2 separate regions of the Homo sapiens genome follow, and region 2 is linked to region 1. The links are contacts of gene promoters, found by promoter capture Hi-C in human tissues and cell types (Jung and others, 2019). All regions are on one chromosome and are shown on one strand. The core of a region is centred on a gene start or on the middle of the fragment in contact, and the rest is flanking DNA. Distances in the headings are between cores, read along the strand shown.

Region 1 (6,672 bases), core at 2,268-4,767:
TTCGAGACCAGCCTGACCAACGTAGCAAAACCTCATCTCTACTAAAAATACAAAAATTAGCTGGGCGTGGTGGTGGGCACCTGCAGTCCCAGCTACTTGAGAGACTGAGGCAGGAGAATCACTTGAACCTGGGAGGCAGAGGTGGCAGTGAGCCTAGATTGTGCCATTGCACTCCAGCCTGGGCAACAGAGTGAGGCTCCATCCCCCTCAAAAAAAGAAAGAAAGAAAGAAAAGAAAAAGAAAAAACTGAAAGAAGTACCTTGACATTCTTAGTTTTTTACTTAAATGCCATATATTATTGACCTAATTGTCCATATGGCTTCCTGTCTTCTTGAATCCTTCCTCTGCCTTATCTGAAGGCTTGTGTCTAGTCTCAGACACTAGGACCAACTCTTACCCTTGAGAGCAGGGAGAGGTGAATGGTGGGAGTGAAATTTAAGTGGTTAGAGTTAGGTCTTCACCTAAGTGGCTCAATATCAAATCAAATTTCACGTTGACATTTTCCACACTTCAAGTAACTCACTTTCAACCTTCCTTGTACCACGATTCAGGTAACAAAATTTCTGTCTTGATCATTTTCCTCATAAATAATTCTTCATTCTCACAAGTCTCTCACTCCAGATGCTGAAAGCTTGTTCCTGCACTATAACCTCATTATCAGTTGGTAAACTGACCTACCTCCAGCTAAGTCCTATTTGAATCTCTAGTGTCCTTTGCTTCTAGAGTTCTCACTGCCATGCTCCTCCCCTAATATGGCTGTCTCTGGTTGTATGTATTGCAAACCACTTGCCTCGACTGCCAGCTGCTGTCTGCATCCTTCTGTGTACCATGTTCTGCCTAACAACATCCTGCCATCACCCCCAGTTAGGTTTACTCTGGCCTTTAACCTGTCCTGTCACTGCTAACCCTTTTGTGTGTAGCTGTTAGGAGATGTGACATAAATGAAAGGCAACCTTATCTTGCATACAACAAAAGCAAGAGCTTAGGAATAAAAGATTTTGGCAATAACTTCCATGACCACTATTATCTGTACATACAGGCTTAAAAAGTCTTAATGGGATGATGGATTATGCTACTAATATGGCCAGCTATCAAAAAAACTTGCATGAGTTTGACACTCATGTGTCAGTCAGTCTGCTGAATTGAATGCAAACAAATGAAGAGATATGTGATGATTGTCAGAATTAATATGAGTACATAAGAAAGAAGTTTTAAAATTTTAAGAATATGGTTACTTATGAAAGTGAGGATAGTTCTTTGTGATAAACTCAGTAATGAAGATCATTTAATGCTGAGATGGGTTTTATATTCTAGCACAGAGGTTTGCAAACTTCTATAAAGGGCCAAATAGTACATATTTTAGTCTTTGTTGCATCCACCACTGTGGCTTGAAAGAAGCCATAGACAGAGAGTAAATGAATGGGTGTGACTGTTTTCCAATAAAACTTTATTTATAAACACAAAAATGAGAATTTTATATAATTTTCACAGGACAAAATATTCTTGTTTTGAAGTATTTTCAACCACTTTAAAAATGTAAAAATCATTCCTAGCTTAAGGGTCATATAAAATTAAGTGGCAGGCTAGATTTGGCCCACCAGTTGTAATTTGCCAACTTCTGTTCTAGCTTGATGCATATTTTCCTAAGCTTTTAATTGACTGGAAATGTGTATGTATGTTGGGGGCCAGCTGCTGGTGAACAAAACTGGCTGTAGCTACTGAGCATACTCAGTGTCACTTAGAAATCCCCAGAAGTTTCAGAATATATATCACTTTTGTAAGATTTCAGTAGATACCACAAGCAGAAGAGCAAGCAGAAAGGGAGATTTCCGAGAATTTTAATGAGATGGGGGGCGGGGACAGTGAAGAGCAAAAAAAATGGTTTTTCCATATCCAAAAATATACTCAGCCCTGACTTAAAAAATGCTCTTGGCTGGGCGTGGTGGCCCACGTCTATAATCCGAGCACTTTGGGAGGCTAAGGCAGGTGGATCACTTGAGGCCAGGAGGTTGAGACCAGCCTGGCAAACATGGCAAAACCCATCTCTACTAAAACTACAGAAATTAGCCAAGTATGGTAGGCGCACCCTCGTAATCCCAGCTACTCGGGCTGCTGAGGCACCAACCTGGGAGGCGGAGGCTGCAGTGAGCTGAGATCGTGCCACTGCACTCCAGCCTGGGTGACAGAGAGAGACTCTGTCTCATAAAAAAAAAAAAAAAAAAAAAAAAAAAAGCTTTTTACATTTTCAAAAATATGCAGAATTGTCCTTGACTGTTGAACAATTTAAATCCTCCATTATGGATGTGAAGAATTTTAAGACTCTTAGTTTTTATCAAATAACCAAATGGAAATAGGAAGTAGCCAGTAGATTATCTCTACAGCTAAACAAAACAAACAAAGCAGAAACCTGCAAAAGACAAAGCATTCTTGAAAAATGAAGTAAGGTCCTAGAGAAGCTATTTCCACCATCCAACACCAGCTGAATTCCCAAATGGTTAAACTTTCACTATAAGTGCTACCCCACTCCAAGTAAAAACTACCTAACACATGGGAGTAGTAAACATGAAACATTGCTCTCATTTATTTAATAGTCGTCACCTTGTAAATAAATATGAGTACATCAGATCTCCAGTTATGGGGCTGGAAGATTTTTAGCATAAGGACAAGTAGGATGCAGAGGAAAAAGGGAGAATGGCTAGAGGCATAGCAAATAATTATTTTCTGTAACACGGAAGACTTTTATCCTATTTATTTACAAGGGAAACCCTCGATTACAACTTGTCTATTAGGTTCTGAGACCTTTTGTGAAATCAGACCCCCAAAAAAGCCGGGGGGATCTGTGAAAAACAGATCCAAGTGTATTTGATATTTGGCATTCTCCGGTGTCCCTCCCACTTGTCACTTTCTTTTCTGATCCGTTTCAGATTCATTCCATATCCTTTTCATATTCATTTTATGTTGATCCTCTTGTCCCTCCTCCCTCATTTTCGTGGTTCCTTCTCCCTCCTCGTCTCATTAAAACTCTTGCAAATCTCCCTTTCTGCTTGCTCTTCTGTTTGCGGTAGCTGCTGAAATCTTACCGAAGTGATGTATATTCTGAAACTTCTGCGGGTTTCTAAGTGACATTGAGCATGCTCAGTAGCTAGGGCCGGTTTTGTTCGCTTGGAAATCTCCCTTTCTGCTTGCTCTTCTGTTTGCGGTATCTACTGAAATCTTACCGAAGTGATGTATATTCTGAAACTTCTGTGGGTTTCTAAGTGACACTGAGCATGCTCAGTAGCTAGAGCCGGTTTTGTTCGCCAGCAGATGGCCTGATTCGACCTCTCCAAAAATAGACATTTTAACTCTCTGAACTCCTGTTTAAGGAAGGATGTAATTCGCTTTGCTCTCTCCTCATTTTCAAGGTTCAAAGGGAAGCTGCGAGGATTCCAAGGTCCCACCGCCCTCACAGCCAATGAGGGGCCTGGGAGGGAGGAGCTTGGTGCAGCTTGAGCTTCTGAGAGAATCATTCCCGGTAGATGCAGCGGAGTCTGAGCTCTGCTGCATCTGTCACAGCAGAACAAAATTAAAAACACAACAGTGGAAGAGAAACGCTGCAGACTATGGGACGCTGTAGGACTTTCTAAAACATTTGCTGGGGATTTCTGTGAAGCATGATCTTTTAAAACGAATTCTTTTGGAAGCCGGTTTGGGTAACTGGGAAAATGACACATATGCTAAATGCAGCAGCTGATCGAGTGAAATGGACCAGATCGAGTGCTGCTAAGAGGGCTGCCTGCCTGGTGGCTGCGGCATATGCTCTGAAAACCCTCTATCCCATCATTGGCAAGCGTTTAAAGCAATCTGGCCACGGGAAGAAAAAAGCAGCAGCTTACCCTGCTGCAGAGAACACAGAAATACTGCATTGCACCGAGACCATTTGTGAAAAACCTTCGCCTGGAGTGAATGCAGATTTCTTCAAACAGCTACTAGAACTTCGGAAAATTTTGTTTCCAAAACTTGTGACCACTGAAACAGGGTGGCTCTGCCTGCACTCAGTGGCTCTAATCTCAAGAACCTTTCTTTCTATCTATGTGGCTGGTCTGGATGGAAAAATCGTGAAAAGCATTGTGGAAAAGAAGCCTCGGACTTTCATCATCAAATTAATCAAGTGGCTTATGATTGCCATCCCTGCTACCTTCGTCAACAGTGCAATAAGGTACCTGGAATGCAAATTGGCTTTGGCCTTCAGAACTCGCCTAGTAGACCACGCCTATGAAACCTATTTTACAAATCAGACTTATTATAAAGTGATCAATATGGATGGGAGGCTGGCAAACCCTGACCAATCTCTTACGGAGGATATTATGATGTTCTCCCAATCTGTGGCTCACTTGTATTCCAATCTGACCAAACCTATTTTAGATGTAATGCTGACCTCCTATACACTCATTCAAACTGCTACATCCAGAGGAGCAAGCCCAATTGGGCCCACCCTACTAGCAGGACTTGTGGTGTATGCCACTGCTAAAGTGTTAAAAGCCTGTTCTCCCAAATTTGGCAAACTGGTGGCAGAGGAAGCACATAGAAAAGGCTATTTGCGGTATGTGCACTCGAGAATTATAGCCAATGTAGAAGAAATTGCCTTTTACAGAGGACATAAGGTAAGATAGAAATTAAGGTGATGGGTGAAATGTGAAACTGTTCAAGTTGCCACTGCAGTGCCAGATACCATCTGTTGTCCTGTCGATGGACCCACTTCTTTAGTGTCTTAGATTCCTCTGACATCTAAACCTGAATTAAAATATATGCTTCATTACCCCTTTTAACTGTAACCAGTTAAAGGATTATAGGGTGCAAACTTTTCTAAAGTTTCAGAAGAATAAAATTTGCAACACTCTAAAAAAGTCTACTTAGCCTCAGTTACTCAAATATGCTCAGAATTATTTCTAACGCATTTTCTTAAAACTTAAATCCCAACTTGGTAGGTCATCCTAAAGCACCTACCAGAAGAAAATATATATTTAGAAACTAAGACTAAACATATTTCCACTGAAATGGAAAATTTAGAATGATATTCTTTGTTGTTCCTTTGTTGTCCAAGAGGGGGGAAGAGCCAGGGTTTCTTATAGAAGACATTTTTAACAATTTTGCATGTCTGATCAATATGGAGCATCCCCATTCCCAAGAAGCGTAGGAGAGTGTCTCACAAAATGGCATTTCTACTACTCTTAGTTCATGTTCAGCACTGTACTTTGACAAAATGAAAAGAGGAAGTGAAATGAAATTTTGTCTAGCTTTGAAAAAAAAAAAAAGCTGAAATTAGAGAAGAAATGAGGAGTACAAAAGGAGTTTCAGAATGTTTTTAATTATTAAAGATTTTCAACATTAAGCAGATCCCTAAAACAATTAGCCCAATTATACATACTAACAGTGCATGAAGGTAACTTCAGAATATGAAATGACAGAAATTTTGAAGGCAATGCAATCTTAATTTAAATGACTTGGTGAATAAAATAAAGTATTCTACTGTTGAAGATGGCATGTCAATCACCAAGCAGAATTATTTAATTTTTAAAGCATCTGTAATTATCAGTGTCTTTAATAGCAGTAGCAACCTGAAAAATAATATTTAAAGTAAATTTAGGAATCCTACTCCCACTTGAAAATTGACCTCATATATTGTATTATATCATATTGATTTGTGATTCTTCTTGAACTATTGAATTCAATGATATAAATTATAGTGTGCTTAGACTTCTTGCATAAAAGACAAAATCCAACAAATTGAGTCAGTTCAAAAGTGGAGTCTATACATATATATGTCATGTGTCCATTTTCAGATATTTTTGGTGTAATCAACAAGGACAAAGCTCTAATAATTGTTTATTCATGTCTCATATAATATCATTTAATTTTAACATCTCATACATAAAATTTAAATATCATAACTATAAATTACTTATATGTATTTTATACCTAACATTATGTCCACTGAGTAGCATAAACTTTTAAAAATAATACACATGTGACCAAAACTAAATAATAACTAATACTGGTATTAATCTGCATTTATTGGTTAAGATGCATAGATAATGCCATACTAAAAAAAAAAAAGAATAATATGTATATATCTTTAAAAAAAGTCCTCAACTCTTTTTCCTCTCTATAGGTAGAAATGAAACAACTTCAGAAAAGTTACAAAGCTTTAGCAGATCAGATGAACCTCATTTTATCCAAACGTTTGTGGTACATCATGATAGAACAGTTCCTGATGAAGTATGTTTGGAGCAGCAGTGGACTAATTATGGTGGCTATACCTATTATCACTGCAACTGGCTTTGCAGATGGTGGTAATGACATTTATGCTTAATCTCAAATATATTTTTAACATTATTTCTTTTGAAGTTGTCATTGCTAGTTTTATGTGAGCTAAACTGTGTACATGGTCATATTCTAGTTAACAATGGTCCGAAACAATGGCAGACTTTACAGCGTCCAGTGATAAGACCAGCAGTATGAAATAAGGAGACAGTGGTTCAAAGACGTTCCCAGTTCTGAGCTATTTCAGAGATCTCTGATGCAGTGTTTCTCGGAGTTGACCTTGAGCAATTTTAATTATATTGCCTAATATAGGATGATTCTTTAGTTTACACTTAACCTCAGAATAAGTTAGTACCCTCAGAAAGAGTA
Region 2 (6,672 bases), core at 2,569-5,068, 310 kb before region 1:
ATTCACATTCACACATTCTTCCTGCCCCTGATATAATTATATCTCATTTTTGGATTAATTAATATATACCATTTTCATTACGATGATGATGGAAATATTGTTCCCCACTGAGCAGCTCTGTGCACTGTGATTAAATTTACTCTGATGTGTGCTGTGAGTCTTCTGTTTGCTCCTCTGCAGCACTTCCCCCTCCTCCACCTTGCTGCCTACAACCCATGATCCTGGCCTGCTGAAATGGCTCATACAGTTATACCAGGATTTTTTTCTCTCTCTCCTATAGTAGTAAGTAGGTGCCACATTCTTTTTCGTTTTTTGGTTTTTTTTTTTTTTTGAGACGAAGTCTCACTCTGTCACCCAGGCTGGAGTGCAGTTGTGCAATCTCCACACACTGCAACCTCTGCCTCCCGGGTTCAAGCGATTCTCCTGCCTCAGCCTCCTGAGTACCTGGGATTACAGGCATGCACCACCATGCCTGGCTAATTTTTGTATTTTTAGTAGAGACAGGGTTTCACCCTGTTGGCCAGGCTGGTCTCGAACTCCTGACCTCAGGTGATCCGTCCTCCTCAGCATCCCAAAGTGCTGGGATTACAGGCGTGAGCCACCACACCCAGCCCAAGTGCCGCATTCTTTAACTTGCTCAGTGTTCAGTGTACCCCTCACTAATTCTTTCTGCATACTTTTCAGTGGAGCTGTAAAGCCTCTTCCTTTACAGTTAAACCTAATGAGAAACACCCATAATCCATCCTGTGATTCTGCTCTTCTTACAGAACTTTCTCCTGCAGCCTCCAGTATCCTGCCTGCCTCTCCCATCTGGTTGCCCCCTGAGGGACAGCTGTAGAAATGCTCTTTACCCCTCTCTCTTGTGGCTGAGTTCTGTTTCCTATATTACATGTCTTTTGCTTTTTTTTTTTGAGATGGACTCTCACTCTGTCGCCCAGGCTGGAGTGCAATGGCTCGATCTCGGCTCACTGCAACCTCTGCCTCCCGGGTTCAAGCGATTCTCCTGCCTCAGCCTCCTGAGTAGCTGGGATTACAGGTTCCCACCACCACACCTGGCTAATTTTTGTAGTTTTAGTAGAGACAGGGTTTCACCATCTTGGCCAGGCTAGTCTCGAACTCCTGACGTCGTGATCCACCCACCTCAGCCTCCCAAAGTGCTGGGATTATGGGTGTTAGCCACTGCGCCCAGCCTCCCATGTCTTCTTTTTAGGCTGACTTCATCTTTATCATGATTCTTACTCTGTACTAGTTTCCTGTGAAAAGTTCAATGAGAAGTAAACAGTTTTGAGACCATGAAACTCTTTATTCAGTCCCCAGACTTGGGTTGTTTTTCTCCCTCAGAATTTTTAATGCCATAAATTTTCATTTTCTTGCCACTCCTTGCTGCTGGCCTTCACCATGTCTGCCATCCTCCTGTCTGCAATCCTGGACATTCATTTTCTCTGGACAGGACACCTCTGTCTCCTCCCCATGTGTGGGGAGGGCAAAGGATCTTGGCAGTGGAGTTGGGGGAGGCATCTTGTTGATTGTTACAAGGATTGTCAACCAGTCCTTTTTATAATCTACTGTCTGAGATATTTGGTACCTCCAATTCTTAAGACTTTCCAGAGTCTGTCATACAAATCATCCTGCTTCTTGCTGGCTTTACTTTGTTGTGATTAGGTTTTAGTTCTGCTGTGTTAAGCCAGTCACCACTTGTCTATCCTCTTTCCACTGTCCAAAGCTTCCAGTCTGATGTTCTTTATCCTTGCATACAAACTTTAATTACTTTATAGTCATTTTAGTGGAGAGTGTGAGGAAATAAAGCTGCTGGGTTTAACTGAACATCTTTCATAAGCCATTTAAAAATCTTGAGACAAGAAACAGGCAAGTTTGTAACTGAAATGCTTTTCTGAAATAAAAATGTTGCTTATTTTTTAACCAGTTACGCATTTAATATCCTTAATTTTTTAAGATTTTAATGTTTTAACTCTGTGCAGTAGAGCATCTAGCATTTTAGCTCTATTTTCTTTATTCCTCATGTTCTAAAAGAAGCACTCTTGATTCCACCACTCACACAAAAAGTGCAATCAGAGCCTGATTGGAGGGTTGGCAGGCTCTCAAATTGAGTAAGTACATTTGCATATTAGAAGGAACAGGATTTACTTTATAGAATTCTCTAATATGAGTAAGATTAAGATTTTTTTCACCCAATCCAGTAAGCAACAATTGGGCCAAAGCATAACTTATATTAGTGCTGTTTGAAGTTAAGATGTTTTGTTTTTTTCAAGAGTATGGGATGTGTAGCGTTTTTTGACTATTGAAGTACAAGATATTATTCAAGTAAAACATTTTTCCCTTTTCAAAATAATGTTGCTATAGGAAAGATTTCGATGAAGTAATGTAAGTAACAACTCTTAAATATATATCAGGACTTTAATATCGGAAATGTAATTCGTTTCCTGCAACATGAATACTTCATACCAAGCTTATAGTTATATAGATAATTTAATTTATACTTTAATGTTTTGGGTTCCAGTTTATTTGAAGTTAATTCATTTAATTATTTGTGTTTTGGGTACTTCATGGGCATGTACCATTTATCTTAAATGCTTTCCTTCCACAGGAGCTCAATAAGTGTTGATATAAAAACAATCATGTTGTGTATCTCTGGCGTAGTATTTTGAACATTGTAAAGCTTAATAAACTTGTCAAATTAATTAAAGCATATCCTGTAGCTTTTGTAAATGCCTCTTAAAATAAAAATTTCTGAATATGAAATAAACCAGATTTAGCCAAGTTACTATATCATTGCATAAAAACTTCTTGGTTTTGAAAAGCTGTTTTGACAGTAACAGTAGCAAATAAAATATTTTTTCTCGTTTGATATGTTATTGTTTAAAAAAGATAAATTCTAACCTAATGTAGACCACATATAATGAACACGCAATTTGGAGTATTAAACATTTTATTAATTGTAATAGATTATGAAATCCTGAACTACTTGTATTGTTACATATTTAGTATTTTATATTTTAAATGACATTTGGGGGAAAAAAACTCAAGAGTATGCTTTGACTAATATGTTTATATTCTTTCCAGGAAACTTCATATGACTCACCAATTTTCAGTTTAGTTTTTGATCTCTATTCTATACCTAGAAAATTTTAAATTCCTTAAGTATTTTGGTGTCAGGAATCAAAGGTAGAAGCAAACTTGCAGAGGTTGATTCTCCCAGGTTCTATAAAATGTACAAAATGTAGTGGATCATTTCATAAAAGGAATGGGTGTGGACTCAAAAGCACCAGGCCATTTGATTATGATACATGAACTGTAGACATATGGCTGACAAGAATCTTATCTGTTTAAAATACTTAGTGCAAAGTGTATTACTGTTCCATTTATATATGATCAAACTAAATGCTTTAGTTCTGGAGGTACTATAAATTATATGATACATTGATGGATTGCTTTATCAATTGTCCAGCTTTTCTCAATCAGATAGCATCAGGATATTTTTCTCTATAAATGAAACCTCTAAAAATTTTCACATTTAAAGTTAGAACTAGCTGGATGCAGGTGGCTCACGTCCGTTTTCCCAACACTTTGGGAGGCCGAGGCAGGAGAATCCCTTGAGCCCAGGAGTTCAAGACCAGCCTGGGCAACAAAGGGAGACCCTGTCTCTACAAAAATTAAAAAGCTCGCCTAGCATGGTGGCTCATGCCTGTAATCTCAGCTACTCAGGAGGCTGAGGTAGGAGGATCTCTTGAGCCTGGGAGATCAGGGCTTCATTGAGCTATGATTGGGCCACAGCACTTCAGCCTGAGTGACAGACTGAGACCCTGCCTGGAAAAAAGAAAAATAAAAAAGGTTAGAACTGTATTTGGTTTGTAAGACAGTAAAGATGATTTTATTACCTATTGAGATGATGACCTGGAAGTTGAAATACCAGTGGGCGATACAGCACATACTAAAGAGCAGCTTACAATACGCTGTCACATATCTCATTTATTTACAATTGATATCTGTGCTTGCATTTTGTAAATGTCAGAGCCATATAAATATGTCTGAGTTTTTAAAATTATAATAAAAGTCTGGGTAGCATTCTTGAAGGCACATATGATAACATGCCTTGGATCTTTCTGAGGCTGTAAACCTGAGATTTGTATGTAAGATGTTCTTAAAAATGGACTAAAGAGATATTTATCACTTTCTAAGTCTTAATATTAGTCACCCTTTTATAAGATATTATAATTATTTAAATACAAAGGGTTATTTATTTATATTTTTCTATAATTGAGGAATAATTATTGTGCTTTGAGGGACATTTTCATTCTCTTTGCTTTAATGTTCTAAACATGATTTAAGGTTCTCTTCAACAGATTTCCAATAATCTTTGCTTCAGTGTTATGAGTACTTAACCAAATATAAAAGCTTACCAAATTCGTGCCCAAATGAGAACATATGCTTCATTTTTATTTTACTATCTGTCATATTCATGAAGATCTAGATAGGATATCCTAACAATTGGGTTAAGGCTATTTAAAAAATTAATTTGGATAACTTAGACAAAGAAGGAAAATTGTTTATTTTATATTAAGCTCTGTATTACTGGGGAAAGACTGGTAAATATTGAGTGGGAATGATTAATTGGATTTGCTGAAAATTATTTTCTTTTAAAGCATCAGTATATAGACAGATATAGAGGAAAATACCAAATGAAAATAAAGTGGCAGTGATCTCAAAATGGGTGAGAAGTGATGTAGAGGGCTAGCATTACTAGTAGTGGCTCTTTTAGTAGTAAAAACTAAAATAATTGACATGAAAAAGATTTAGCCATTAAAAAATATAGTTTCTGAACCATAGCTTCCTAGCTTTTAAGTATTTCTTTACTTAAAGGAAAAAAAGTTAATTATTTGATATATTTTTAAAGTATGCAGGTGGAAGATGTTAATATATTATTGTTATATATGCACAACTGAATAACTGAAGTCATTGAGAAGTGTTACTATGACTACCTTTTTTGGTAAATAATGATTTTAGTGGTGAAAGATAAATGGCAGAAATTGAAAGATTTAATTAAAATACATTTAGTTCATCTTACTACTTTCTAACTAGTTTTAGGTAGATATTAAAAATGTGAATAATAAGGCCAGGCCTGATGGCTCACACCTGTAATCCCAACACTTTGGGAGGTAGAGGCAGGAGGATCCCTGAGCCTAGGAGTTTGAGACTAGCCTGACGATATGGTGAAACCCCGTCTCTACAGAAAAAAAGTACAAAATTAGCCGGGCATGATGGTGTACCCCATAGTCCCAGCTACTCAGGAAGCTGAGGTGGGAGCATAGATTTAGCTCAGGAGATCGAGTGAGCGATCCATGATCATGCCTTTGCACTCTAGCCTGGGTGGCAGAGTGAGACTCTTCCTCAAAAAAAAAAAAAAAAAAAAAAATTATCTGTATGTATAGGACACTTAACCTATTTATTCATCTGGTATGTTTTATGTCATGCTCCCTAATGTGTATGATGATATAAATAAATGTTGAAGAAAAATTTTAAACGGATAGTCTTTGGCAGATTTTTTACAATGTATTACATAGACAAAGAAACTTATTCTTCATACTTCTTTTATTTTGGCGGGGTGGGGGGTCTTTTTCTCAAGTTAGCTTTCTGTCATGCAAAACACAAAAGGTCAAGCCTATTGCATTTTACATTGCCAAACTTTTTTCTCTAGTATTTTCACCAAATACTGCCTCTGTTTTAAATAAGCTAGTCTTATCACTGTCCTCAAAAATTGAAAGAAAAAAAATGAAGAATAATTGAAAACAGTGATTCAAGCAAATACTTCTATACTAACGATACAATGATCCTAATAATTGCAGAATTATTTATAGTAGATAAATAGTAGATACTTAGTATCTATGTTGTGTCAGAAAAAGGTGAAGTCTATTTTAGATAAGCTAGTCTTATCACTGTCCTCAAAAATTGAAAGAAAAAAAATGAAGGAAGAAGAATTGAAAACAGTGATTGAAGCAAATACTTCTATACTAATGATACAATGATCCTAATAATTGCAGAATCATTTACAGCAGATAAATAGTAGATACTTAGTATCTATGTTGTGTCAGAAAAAGGTGAAGTCCTCCTAGCTTGCTAAATGACTAATTCAGCTTCCCACATATCTTCCTGACATTAAAAAAAGACAACAACCTGTGTATCTCTTCAGCTTAAATTTAGTAAAGGTATTCATTTTAGCTAGCAACTTTAGTCATTTTGTTTTCAAGACTGTTTTGGGCTTTCTGGAAGGCCAAAAGTATAGGATATTTTATAAAAACATCATTCATATTTTAAGAGTGTACATTATTAACATTCAAAAGATAAATGAAAGAAAATTATTTTAACATAACATTTTTTATTTTATTTCGTTTTAACTGTTTATCTTGATAAGCTGTATTCAATACAAGTAATTTTGGAGTTTTAAGTATAAAAGCCTTCAAGAAACATAGAACTATTATTTTAGTGAAAAGAATGAAAATCAGTAGCATGTTTGTTTTAATTCTTTTTTCCATATTTGTATAATATTCATATGCTTCATAGTTTTATAAACATATGCAGATGTGCATATTTTACCACATAATGTGCTCCGAGGGAGGCAGAATAGGTGTTGAGGTGCGATGAGGTTTGGTAAGCTTT

Evidence for each region. The method cuts DNA at HindIII sites, captures the fragments that hold promoters and counts their contacts. A contact is called where the count stands out against the background at its distance.
Region 2: a fragment that was not itself captured here is called in contact with the fragment with the promoter of ABCD2 in region 1 in 1 of the 25 tissues and cell types used here (hippocampus).

Annotation. Positions count from the first base shown.
Region 1 is chr12:39,616,648-39,623,319 of GRCh38, reverse strand. It overlaps ABCD2 (ATP binding cassette subfamily D member 2), which reads left to right and starts at 3,517. Exons shown (of 10, transcript NM_005164.4): 1 at 3,517-4,643; 2 at 6,152-6,332. The coding sequence starts at 3,705. RefSeq lists enhancers at 1,897-1,976, 3,206-3,725, 4,036-4,115. The HindIII fragment of the contact is 5,264 bases long and covers 1,942-6,672 here.
Region 2 is chr12:39,923,790-39,930,461 of GRCh38, reverse strand. All of the region lies in intron 4 of SLC2A13 (solute carrier family 2 member 13), which reads left to right. Among named protein-coding and RNA genes, the nearest start is that of SLC2A13, 180 kb to the left of the region's middle. The HindIII fragment of the contact is 3,446 bases long and covers 2,096-5,541 here.